2 separate regions of the Homo sapiens genome follow, and region 1 is linked to region 2. Evidence: promoter capture Hi-C in 16 types of primary human blood cells and fetal thymus (Javierre and others, 2016). All regions are on one chromosome and are shown on one strand. The core of a region is centred on a gene start or on the middle of the fragment in contact, and the rest is flanking DNA. Distances in the headings are between cores, read along the strand shown. Region 1 overlaps SCOC-AS1 (SCOC antisense RNA 1). Region 2 holds the start of UCP1 (uncoupling protein 1).

The links. The method cuts DNA at HindIII sites, captures the fragments that hold promoters and counts their contacts. A CHiCAGO score of 5 or more calls a contact.
Region 1: a contact is called between a fragment that was not itself captured here and the fragment with the promoter of UCP1 in region 2, in 1 of 17 cell types (endothelial precursors). The highest score is 5.3, in endothelial precursors.

What each region holds. Positions count from the first base shown.
Region 1 is chr4:140,360,549-140,366,239 of GRCh38, forward strand. The region is part of intron 2 of SCOC-AS1 (SCOC antisense RNA 1); the gene reads right to left. It also overlaps a transcript of SCOC not described here and the pseudogene RPL14P3. Among named protein-coding and RNA genes, the nearest start is that of SCOC-AS1, 10 kb to the right of the region's middle. The HindIII fragment of the contact is 1,321 bases long and covers 2,487-3,807 here.
Region 2 is chr4:140,566,446-140,572,441 of GRCh38, forward strand. UCP1 (uncoupling protein 1) reads right to left here and starts at 2,516. Exons shown (of 6, transcript NM_021833.5): 1 at 2,159-2,516; 2 at 1,334-1,532. The coding sequence starts at 2,284. The HindIII fragment of the contact is 4,953 bases long and covers 918-5,870 here.

The sequences.
Region 1 (5,691 bases), core at 1,897-4,396, 210 kb before region 2:
GGGGCAGAGAGATAACTTGATAGGAAGTAATATAAGCTCTGAGGCGAAAAGGCAATGTGGAAATCCAGTGTCATCCTCAAATGCAGCACAGACATGTCAGCTTTTTTATGACACAGAGAAAGTACGGACTGGGAACAGAGCACTCGTTTATTCAGCCAATGTCTGTGGACCTGCCTTCAGGCACTGTGCTTGGCAGGGGCTATATCAATGGAGAAGATGCAGTTACTACCCTCAAGGGATTTAAGAAATGAAGTACAGGAGGTTTCTATTCAGATTCAATATTTTAATAAAAAATGTTTTTATTAATGGCCATTGACTTCTACTGATGCTTCCTGAATCTCCAGCTCGTGTGGTTCTCTTCCTTTTTGAACTTTAGATATCCATCCAGCACCTTCTGCGACATTTTGTAGTATTTCCCTTAAGATACTGTATAAAGAAGGAGGAAGAAAAATAGGAATTTGACACAGAACTAAAGATTATTCCATTTAGAGGTTTTTGGGAGAAGCAGGCTGGGATGGGCCCTGAGTTTCGCTACATATTTTTGCTGGTATGCCAAGAGTACTGACACCATGCCAGGCAACTTCTCTCAGATTTTCTTATTTTATCTTGCTGACAGACCTGTAGGGACAGGCACTGTAATCACCATTTCTGTCAATGGTCCCTTGCAGCACGGCAGTGGGTTTTTTTTTTTTTTTCTGGAAAGTGATGCTAAGAGTACACTTTAGGACTTTTATATCAAAGCTAGAACTGACTGTCACGTGACAATGTTAAAATGCTGACTTCAGTTGCGGCCAATGGTGCTTGTTAGGAAAAACTCTATTAAACTGTATTTTAGGCCAGCGCAGTGGCTCACACTTGTGATCTCAACATTTTGGAAGGCCAGGGTGGGAGGATCACTTGAGCCCAGGAGTTTGAGACCAGCCTGGGCAATATAATGAGACCTCATCTCTACAAGAAATAAGATTAGCGAGGCATGGTTCTGTGCCTGTAGTCCCAGCTATTTGAGAGGCTGAGGCAAGAGAATCACTTGAGCCCAGGAAGTTGAGGCTGCAGTGAGCCATGACTGTGCCACTGCACTCCAGCCTTGGTGACAAAGTGAGATCCTCTCTCTAAATAAATAAAATAATGTATTTTAACGTAAAACTCTTTGGGTGGGACAAACAATGCTCCAAGTAAAATTAATACCTTGAAACGTAAAGAGTCATGGAGATCTCCTGTGAAGAAACTTCTGTGAGTGACAAGAATGGATTCAGAATACCTCTGAGGACTACATCTATTTTCTCCCAAAATGAAAGCTACAAGATACTTTCTTGTAATGCGCTTCATGTAGTACAAAAAGAAAATCTACAAACTCTAGAACTCATAATTCTATAATAAAGAATGAGTTGCAAGGAATTCTGGGCTCTTTCAATAACTTGAGGAGCTATTTCTTCTAAGGCTGAAGGGGACTTGAACTTGATTTAAATTGGTTGTCATCAGCCTTTAGAGCAGACACTGAGAGTGATTCTGAGCACGACACAGACACAGCCCCTATCCCTTAGTAGCAAGGCTTTCTTTAGTTTTCTGCCTTCACTGAAGAAGGAAAGAGAGAGCCTGGCCATATCTTTGCTTCACACTGGGCATGATTTGCTTCACTGCGATGAGTGTTACTAACTATCCTGGTAATTACTAATTTTAAGCAATTGTTTTAAAACAAACTAAAGACCGGCTAAAGACAGGTGTGTCCTTACTTCTTCTTCTTCTTCTTCTTCTTTTTTTTTTTTTTTTGTGAGAGTCTCGCTCTGCTGCCCAGGCTGGAGTGCAGTAGTGTGATCTTGGCTCACTGCAACCTCCACCTCCTGGGTTCAAGCGATTCTCCTGCCTCAGCCTCCCAAGTAGCTGAGACTACAGGCCAAGCCACCATGCCCGGCTAATTTTTGTATTTTTATTACAGACAGGGTTTCACTATATTGGCCAAGTTGGTCTGGAACTCCTGACCTCAAGTGATCTGCTCACCTCAGCCACCAAAAGTGCTGGGATTACAGGCGTGAGCCACTGTGCCCAGCTGTTACTTCTTATTGTTGTAGGGTTTGGTCAAATAGTGGAAAAGAAAGGTTAGGGAGGGAGCTACAAAAATACTACTTGACTTATTTTAAAAATATTTCTATTAATGGCCACTGACTTCTACTGATGCTTCTTTAATCTCCAGCTGGTGTGGTTCTCTTCCTTTTTAAACTTTAGATATCCAACCAACATTTTCTGAGACATTTTGTGGTATTTCCCTTAGGATACTATATAAGGAAGGAGGAAGAAAAACAGGAGTTTGACACAGAACTAAAGATCATTCAATTTAGAGGTTTTTGGGAGAAGCAAACTGGGATGGGCCCTGAGTGTCATTGCATATTCTTGCTGGTATGCCAAGAATACAGTCAACCCAGGCTTTACTCAGGTATGTTTTCAGAGAGCAACTTTAAGGGATGAGGTAATGCCTCTCTGGTTAAAGAGCAAGCTTGCTTCCACTTGCCATAAAAGCCAAAGATTCCCCAAACTCAATGTTCCTCTCCTATATTATAACCCGCTGCATGTATAGGCATCTACAGGGGCCCTCTGCCTCATCCCTGTGGGACTTGGGGGACATAGGTAACAGCAACAAATCAGCATGAAGCTCATGATGAGCTGGGAGTAAGAGAGTCCTTAGACTCTGACCCAGACATCTCATGTCTTCCGCCAGCATTCATGAAACAGGCAATCGTTAGCTTGTAAGTGCAGCTGACCTTTGAACACCATGGGTTTGAACTGCATGAGTCCACTTGTATGCATTTTTTTCAGTAAATATAATGGAAAATTTTTTGGAGATTGTGACAATTTGGAAAAATTCACAAACTTCATAGCCTAGAAATATATAAAAAATTAGGTATGTCACAAATGCATAAACATATGTAGATACTAGTCTGTGTTACTATTACCATAAAATATCACAAATCTATTATAAAAAGTTACAATTTATCAAAACTTATGCACATGCTTACAGAGCACACATGGCACCATTTGCAGTTGAGAGAAATGTAAACAAATGTACAGATGCTGTATTAAACCATAAGTGCATAAAATTAACTGTAGTACATACTGTACTACCATCATAATTTCACAGCCACTTCCTGCTGCTATTGCTGTGAGCTTAAGTGCTGTGAGTATCCACTTAAAATGCCATGGGATGCTAATTATCTCTGTGTGAGCAGTTCATCTCTCTGGTAAATTGCCTATAGCAGTAAAAAGTAATCTCTTGTGGTTCTCTAGTGTTTTTTCATTGTGTTTAGTGCAATACTGTAAACCTTGAATAACACCATGGCACCCATACAAAGTGCCACTAGTGATGCTGGAAGTGCTCCCAAGAAGCAGAGAAAATTCATGACATTACAAGACAAAGTTGAATTGCTTGATATGTATTGCAGATTGAAGTCTGCAGCTGTGGTTGCCCACCGTTTCAAGATAAATGAATTCAGCTTAAGAAAGATTGTAAAAAAAGAAAAGGAAATTCATGAAGCTATCACTGCAGCTACACCAGCAAGCATGAAAAACTTACACTTTTTGCAAAATACCTTTTTATCTAGTATTGAAAATGCAGTTTTTCTGTGGGAATGCAGGATTGCTATAAGAAAGGCATACCTACTGTGATGTGATTTGAGAAAAAGCGAAGTCATTATATGACAACTTAGAGCAAAAGGAAGGCGAAGGATGTAAACCTGAAGAATTTAATGCTGGCAAAGGATGGCTTAATAATTTTAGGAAGAGGTTTGGCTTTAAAAATGTCAAGATAATTAAAGAAGAAGCTTCTGCCAATCAAGAGACAGCAGACAAGTTTCCAGATGCCATTAAGAAAATCATTGAGGAGACAGAATATCTGCCTGAACAGGTTTCTAATGCAGATCAAAGTGCCCTATTCTGGAAAAAAAATCCACAAAGGACATTTATTAGTAAGGAAGAGAAGTGAGCACCAGGATTTAAGGCAGGAAGGGATAGGCTACCTATACTGTTTTGTGCAAATGCAGGGGGGTTATGATCAGGACTGCCCTTATCTATAAAGCTGCTCATCCCTGAGCCTTGAAGGGAAAAGAAAAACATCAGCTGCCAGTCTTAATGGCTGTACAACAAGAAGGCCCAGACAATGAGAACCCTTTTTCTGGATTGTTTCCATCAATGCTTTGTCCCTGAAGTCAGGAATTACCTTGCCCATAGGGACTACCTTTAAATTTTTTTCTGATATTGGACAGTGCCTCTGGCCACCCAGAACCCCATGAGGTCAAAACTGAAGCTGTCAATGTGGTCTACTTGCCCCCAAACACAATGTCTTTAATTCAGCTTCTAGATCCTTGGCTCTTAAGAACCCTTAAGCCTTATTACACAGGGTACTCAATGGAAAGGACTGTCAATGCCATGGAAGAGAATTCTGATAGAGAGAGCATCATGACAGTCTGGAATGATTACACCATTGAAGATGTCATCGTTGTTATAAAAAAAAGTTGTGAAGGTCATCAAGATTGAAATAATAAATTCCTGCTGAAGAAAACTATCCAGATATTGTGCATGACTTCACAGGATTTACCACAGAGCCAATCAAAGAAATCATGAAAGATATGGATATGGCAAAAAAAAAAAAAAAGTGAAAAGTGAAGGGTTTCAAGATCTGGATCTTGGAGAAATGTAAGAGCTAACAGATACCACAGCAGAGGAATTAACAGAAGAAGACATGGTGGAGATTGGTGCTTTCAAACCAGTGCCACATGATGAGAAAGAAGACATAGAAGAGGCAGTGCCAGAAAAATTGACATTAGACAATCTGGCAGAAGGGTTCCAGTTATTCAAGACTGCTTTTGACTTCTTGGACAAAAAGAATGGCATGGCTTCTATGATACAGGCACTGAAACTTCTTTGATAAAGGCACTGAAACCAAAGCAGTGGAAGAAAGGTGTTACCATATAGAAACATTCTAAGAGAAATGAAAAGGAGCAAAAAGTCAGACAGAAATTACAATGTATTTTCATAAAGTTTCACTGAGTGTCTGACTCTCCTTCCTCCCTTTTTCTCCTCCATCTCTTCTGCCTCTGTTGCCTCTGGGACAGGAAGACCAACCCCTTCTCTTCCTCCTTCTCCTCAGCTTGTTCAATGTGAAAATGAAGAAGATGAAGACTTTCATGATGACCCACTTCCACGTAATGTAAATATATTTTCTCTTCCTTCTTACTTTCTTAATAACATTTTCTTTTCTCTAGCTTACTTTATTGTAAGAATACAACATATATACAAAATATGTGTTAATTGACTGTTTATGTTATTGGTAGTGCTTCCAGTCAACATAGGTTATTAGCAATTATACTTTGGGGGAGTCAAAAGTTATACATGGATTTTCCATTACACAGGGTATTGGCACCTCCTAAGCCCCACATTATTCAAGGGTCAACTGTAGGGTAACATCCCAGATCCTGACAAAAGCTGACAGAGGAACTCTAACAAGTTGATTATTTTTATCATAAATGGTTACCAGGGAAACAGAAAACTGTAAAGATCATGTTTGTATAATGCAATTTTAAAAATCCATGAGCAGCCTAGCATTTTAGAGCCTTGCTTGCAATCTTGGGTGCCTCCTTTTCTTTCTTTCTTTTTTTTTTTTTTTTCCCAAATAGAACTTTTATTACTTTTCTAATCACCTCTTTC
Region 2 (5,996 bases), core at 1,266-3,765:
TGTGAAGAAAACCACCTGAACGGGCAGCTTTACCTCCTTTGTGTTTCCTCTCTTGCTACATCTATAAATAAAAAAATGCAGTTTTGATCTAGTAACATCCAGACTTTATCTTCACTTTGAAAGTACTTGTGTGGATAAGTATAACTTATATATTTGTATAGACAACATTTATAAATTATCCCATAAAATTATAGTATTGAAGGTTACTCACAGCAGAAATGATGAAATCTACAAGGTGGATTTCACTTAATGTATTCATTGTGCCATCAGCACATCTTCTCTCTGGCTTGTCTACTCCACATGAAAGTGCCTCTGATGTTGATTAGCTGTGTGATTTTGTGCATGTTACTTAACTACCCTGATATTCGGCTAACACTTTTTACTCACAGCAGTGTTGTGCGGTTTGAATGATGGGCAGAATCATATGAGAAGTGCAGAAGGCAGTAGAGAACAGGGTTAGGAGCCTGGAGTCCGAGGCCAGACTGCCTGGGTTTGAACCCTGGCTCTGCCCCCTCCCAGCTGTGTGACCTTGGGCAAGTGATGAATCTGCTCTGTGTTCAGTTTTCCCATCTGCCAAGGGATAATGGTACTAATACCCTTCCAGTTATAATGTATCTGAAGCACTTAGAACAATGTCTGGTTCATAGTTAAGCCCTCAAATAAATGCTACCTAAAGTGACAGGAATTCTTAGAGTGCACTGGCACTCAGGAAATATGTTTCCTTTTCTTTTTCCCCTAAACAAACTCCCTGCAGCATTCGTCCACTTTTTCTGCTCTGGTCTTTCCTGGACCTGATGAGGAACCTCTTAAGAGGAAATATGTCTTTTCCTGTCCTTTCAACTCTCTTCACAAAGTCTGGCTTTCTTTGCTTCAAACAGAAGGCTTTGAACTTTGTTGCATACACAAATGATGAGGGAAGCTTGTGGAAAGACACTCTGGTCTCTAGCCTGAGGATTCAGACTCAGAGGACCATGGTAGTCCTCGTTTGGATTTCTGACAAGCTCCATAGATGTTTCTGATATACTTCCCTCTTTGGAGAACTTTAAGTTAAACATTTTTCTGTAGCCCACCCATATTCTCCAGATGGAGATCCAAACTGGGCACAAAACTTCCATGACTGGGTGACCTTTACAAGTATATATCTGCATCTAAAAAATCGATTTTGCATACTTTTTTCTATGAACAATGAGCTAATGTTTGGGGAAGGGAGAGTTCAAATATGAATGTTTTCTCGCCAATTTGTTATGAAAACCACTCCTCTGTGTGTTACACTTTTTGGAACAGAGCGGAGCCCAAGGCTTTTCTGCCCCTCCCAGGAACGCTCACGGCTTACTTTCTTTCCCTGCGGTGAGGAACTCCTGGACCGTGTCGTAGAGGCCGATCCTGAGAGAGGCGGAGCTGATTTGCCGCTGAAGCCCCGCAGGCAGCCCGCTGTAGAGTTTCATCCGCCCTTCTGTTTTTACCACAGCGGTGATTGTTCCCAGGACACCTTTATACCTAATAACACTGGACGTCGGGCATTCACCTTGGACCTGGAAATAAGAAAGGTGCAGAACAGAAGGGAGCGAAATTGAGTTCACTCTTAAGCCAAGATTTCCCCCTGTGTTCCTATTTTCCGTTTCTTTTCTCAGCAACATTCCTCTTCCATCCACCTCCCTCTACCGTGTGTGTGTGTGTGTGTGTGTGTGTGTGTGTGTGTGTGTGTGTGTGTTCGCTCACGCGCAGATGGAGGGAGGCTGGCTACAATGCACATTTTGAATATCCCCCTCCCCAGGAACTCTCCAGAACCCCTAGGGCAGTAGGATAGGACAGAACCCCCGAAGAATCAAAGAAAGGAAAAAGCACCTGACTAGTAAACTCAGGAGAGGCCAATATTCTCAGCTCTTAAAATACTAAGTGCACCCTAAATTTTGGGAGAATTTGGTAGTAGTCATGGTCAACCCATTCTCTGTGGCCCTGGTGGTTCTTCAGCTAATCCCAGAAAAAGTTCCAGTTTCCCATCCTAAAGCACCAGCCCTGGGACAAGGCCAGACTGCTTTGGAAGGTCACCTACCCTACCTAGAAACAGTGGTTACACCAAAGCAGAGAATAAATGGAATGCACGCAACAGCGTCCCCTCTGTCCTGAGACCCCTTGTCTTACCCCTCTGCCTAGCTACCTGGAGCCGGACTTTGGCCGTGTCCAGCGGGAAGGTGATCACGTCCGCCAAGCACGCCGCTATTCCAGCTGAGAAGAGCTGGACCCCCAGGGTCGGGTGTACGTCCGAGGCTGTCAGGCCCCCCATCTTCACTCAGAGACTGGAGATGCAGAGGAAAAGGGCTCCAGCCCCGAAGGTGGAGGAAGTTCCTTTCCCTTGCTCTTCACGCCTGTCCGCCGGGCAGCAAACCCGATTTCTGTTTTTTGAACCGACCGCCGGGCAGCGGCGGTGCAGAGGCGGCGGCTGCAGACGGAGCGCGGTGTTGGGGGCCGAGTCCCCGCGTCCCCTCCTACCCACCCTCGCGCCAGCAGGACCCTCTGCGTTCCGGTCTTCCGCTGGGACTTATATAGCTGGGCCGCTCCCGGGCTGGGCCGCGCGAGGTCTCAGAAGACCCGGGCGTGGGACCTGCCGGGGGCGTGTCCGGGAGCACCGGGTCCCTCCCATTCCCATTCTCGCTCGGTGCCTCGGGAGCCCTGCTTCGCTCCCCGAAAGCCCTGGGCCGGCCGCTGGTTGTCTGCGCCCCGCACACCGCACGTCGGAGGGAGGGCGCACCGCGGCGGTCAGCACCCGCGCCCCCGCACGTGCCTCACCTTCTGTCACCCTTTGGCTGCACACCTTCGGCTGGGGCTTTCGGAAACCAGCACGATATCAGAGCCTTGGTGAAAGGTTCTGCCTAGCTGGAGCTCTCCCAGAAGGAAGAGCGGGGCACTCTTCCATTCCTCCAACTCCCCAGACATCTTGCAGGCACCTTGCGGCCTTCTCTGCTTCCCTTTCCTCTCCTTTAAACTTCTCATCCTCCTTCCTCCGGATTCCTTCTCTTCCCACTACCAAATTCAGACTTGGAAGAATCCCACACAGGAACCAAGAGCACTCTGAACTTGTCAAAAAGAGCGTTTCGTTTCATCACTTTTTGAGAGAAGATGTCAAACGAGACAATAGACACACTAGAAAGCAAATAGTACATTGCTAAAGCACCGTACAAAATGAGATACCACCTGTTCCTTCTAATTAGATTTCTTAGAGGGTGCAGTGGAAAGGACAGGGCAGGTTGCTTGGCTCCAGGTGCAGCTCTCCAGCTTACCAACTCTGTGAACCTGGGAAAGTCATCTGTACTCCAGCTTTTATTTTCAACAGTGTAAAATGTGGTTCCAGAGCTAGCCCAGGTCTGAAATCTCCCTGCTAACTTACCTATAATGATGTAATATGTGTTGGTTGTGTGGCCTTTCCTAGTTCGATCTTTGTGCAAATTTTATTTTCAATGTTTATTCTTGTGAAAACTTAAGAAAACAAAAAACTTTTAAAAAAAACAGTGGGAAATAATAGGAAACTGGAGAAAGAGGGAAATGGACAAGGTCAGGTCCCAGCTTTCAGAACCTCTCAGTTAAGCCAAAGATGGATTTGATATTACCAGAATCCACGTCCAGCTATTTAGGGCCTCTGGTACTCAACCCTGACTTAAGCCCCCCAAAAGAGTCAGTGGAAGTCAGAGTCATCTCCTCCAGGAGCAGGAGAAATAAGACATGAATAAAGAATAATCTCCAAACCCTCTATAAGTAAAGGTTGTGTACTGTGCAAGAAGCCAGTCCTAAGGCACTTCCAAGGGAGGTCAGGCTTGCAGAGCTTCCCTGAAAAAGGCAATGTTGACCTGACGGGTAGCCTCTGAAAAAAAATAGAAAGGAGAAGGAGCCAGCGAGGTTTCTCCTCTGCAAACACTTGTTGAAATAAAGATCAACTGAGGCAAATAAGTGGCATGCATACAGGCAAAGATGTTGGGGAAAGCAAGTCGCGTATATAGAATGCATTCTGTTGGCCTGACTGACTGGGAAATTGGGTGATGGGGAAGAAAGAGAGAGGTAGGGCAAGAAGTTGGTGAGGGATGAGGCTGTAGAAGCCAAATGAGAAGCAGAGCCTGCAAATCCATTATGAGTGTAGCTTCATGTTATCACCTGTGTAGTGCTTTACAGACTATGAAGTGCTCTCACATAAATGTCAGATTTAATTTGATAGACAATACAGCTTTATGAATGATTAGATGTGGAGTCAAAGATTACTCTATGTTTAAGAACATGGGTTGCAAGCTCAGTGACAGTACCAATGATTGTCATGAGGCAGTTGGTAAGGGGGGTGATTTTAGGGGTAAGAAGATTAAACCAATTTTTAAAGTCTTAGAATTATTTGGAGAGAATACTGTTGATATCCAGATAGAGAGCTTAGGAAGCTGCATTTAACATGCTAAAAGAGGAAGAAATAGAGGAGGTATTTGGTAGTCATGATATGGATGCAATGAAAGGGGCATGCTTTTCACGGGAAAATGGGGCTAGTCAAATAGGACTAGGAAAAGAATTCAAGGGCCAAACCATAGGGGGACCCAGACCCAGAGTTATAGTCTGGAAAGAATGGCTTTGTCAAAGGTAGAGTGAGAACAAGAAACAGTAACATATCCAGTGATAGAACTGGTATTTAAGAATATGATTAAAGAAAGATTGGGTCTGACCAGTGTCAAGTTTAGAAAAAATGTCAGGAGGACAAAAACAAAGAAAAACCTACCGGATTTGACTCTAACATTGTTGGTGATCTTAGGGAGTACAACTATGATGGAGTTGTTATGTTGTGAGGCTGATGGCTAAGCAGTGGTTAAGAATGTTGGTATAGTATGACTAAAGTGTACAAGAGGAGACCTTATTCCTTGTTGACTCTAGTGAACCTCTGCTATCAACAGGTTAATTCCCAGTCCTCACCCCAAAGCTACCCATGAATCTTTCTCAGTGGTTCTGTCTGTAGTAGTTTTAAAACATAATTGCAAATCCATCACATTCCTCCCATCAAAAGATGAGGGTACATATGCCTTCCCCTTGCATCTGGCAGGCTTATGAATGTTTTGACCAATAGAATAATACAGAACTGATGCCATGTGGCTTCTGAGACCAGATTATAAAAGTCCTTGTATCTTCTGCTTTACTCACTGCAACATTTGCTCTTGGAGCCCTGGGCCAGCATGTAAGAAAGCAAACTTCTCTGAGGCTGTTCATGCTGGAGAGGCCCCACATCATCATCCCTCTTTACCAAGGCACCAGGCACCAGAGTACAGCTATCTTGGACCCTCCAGATAAGCCTACCTGACAGTTGAATACCACCAAGTGATCTCCTATGATGTCAGTAAAGCAGAAGAATCGCCTAGCTGAGCCCAGTCTAAATTCCTGATCCATAAAATTGTGAGATATAATAAAATAATTATTGTATTAAGGTAGCAAAAGATAACTGTAACAGCACCTTTACTTGTTTGAGCAGTTGGGAGGGGCATGCATTCTCTCTTTGCCCCATCCTACTTTCACAACGAGGAAGGAGTTCAAGGCAGTGGGTGGGTAAAGAGTTTTAGATTTGGACTATAAGAAGAAGCCACAATACATTTGTAAAGAAGAAGCAAGGTAAATTAAAATTGTCTTTTTTTCCCCATAAGGCACATGTTTGCATGTTTTAAAGCCAGAGTATGACAAACTAGAGGAGAAAGTGAGAGGAAAACTATGATAAGGGAAGGAAATGTGAGAAATAAATAAATCTATTAGAAATAAGAAAGGTTGTTATCCAAAACAGGTAAGGATAGGTAGGGAGAGAGGACCTGTGACAGGATAAAGGGGCTGCCTTATTTAAACCTGGAAGGAAGAACGACAGTATAAGCTTCCAGGATATTAATATCAGGCTAACATGGACAGTTAAGAGCCTTTGCCAGGAGATAGTATGACTGTAGTTCAATGGTGACTGAGCACCTGGGATGTGCTAGACACAAGAGTGACTTCTAAGG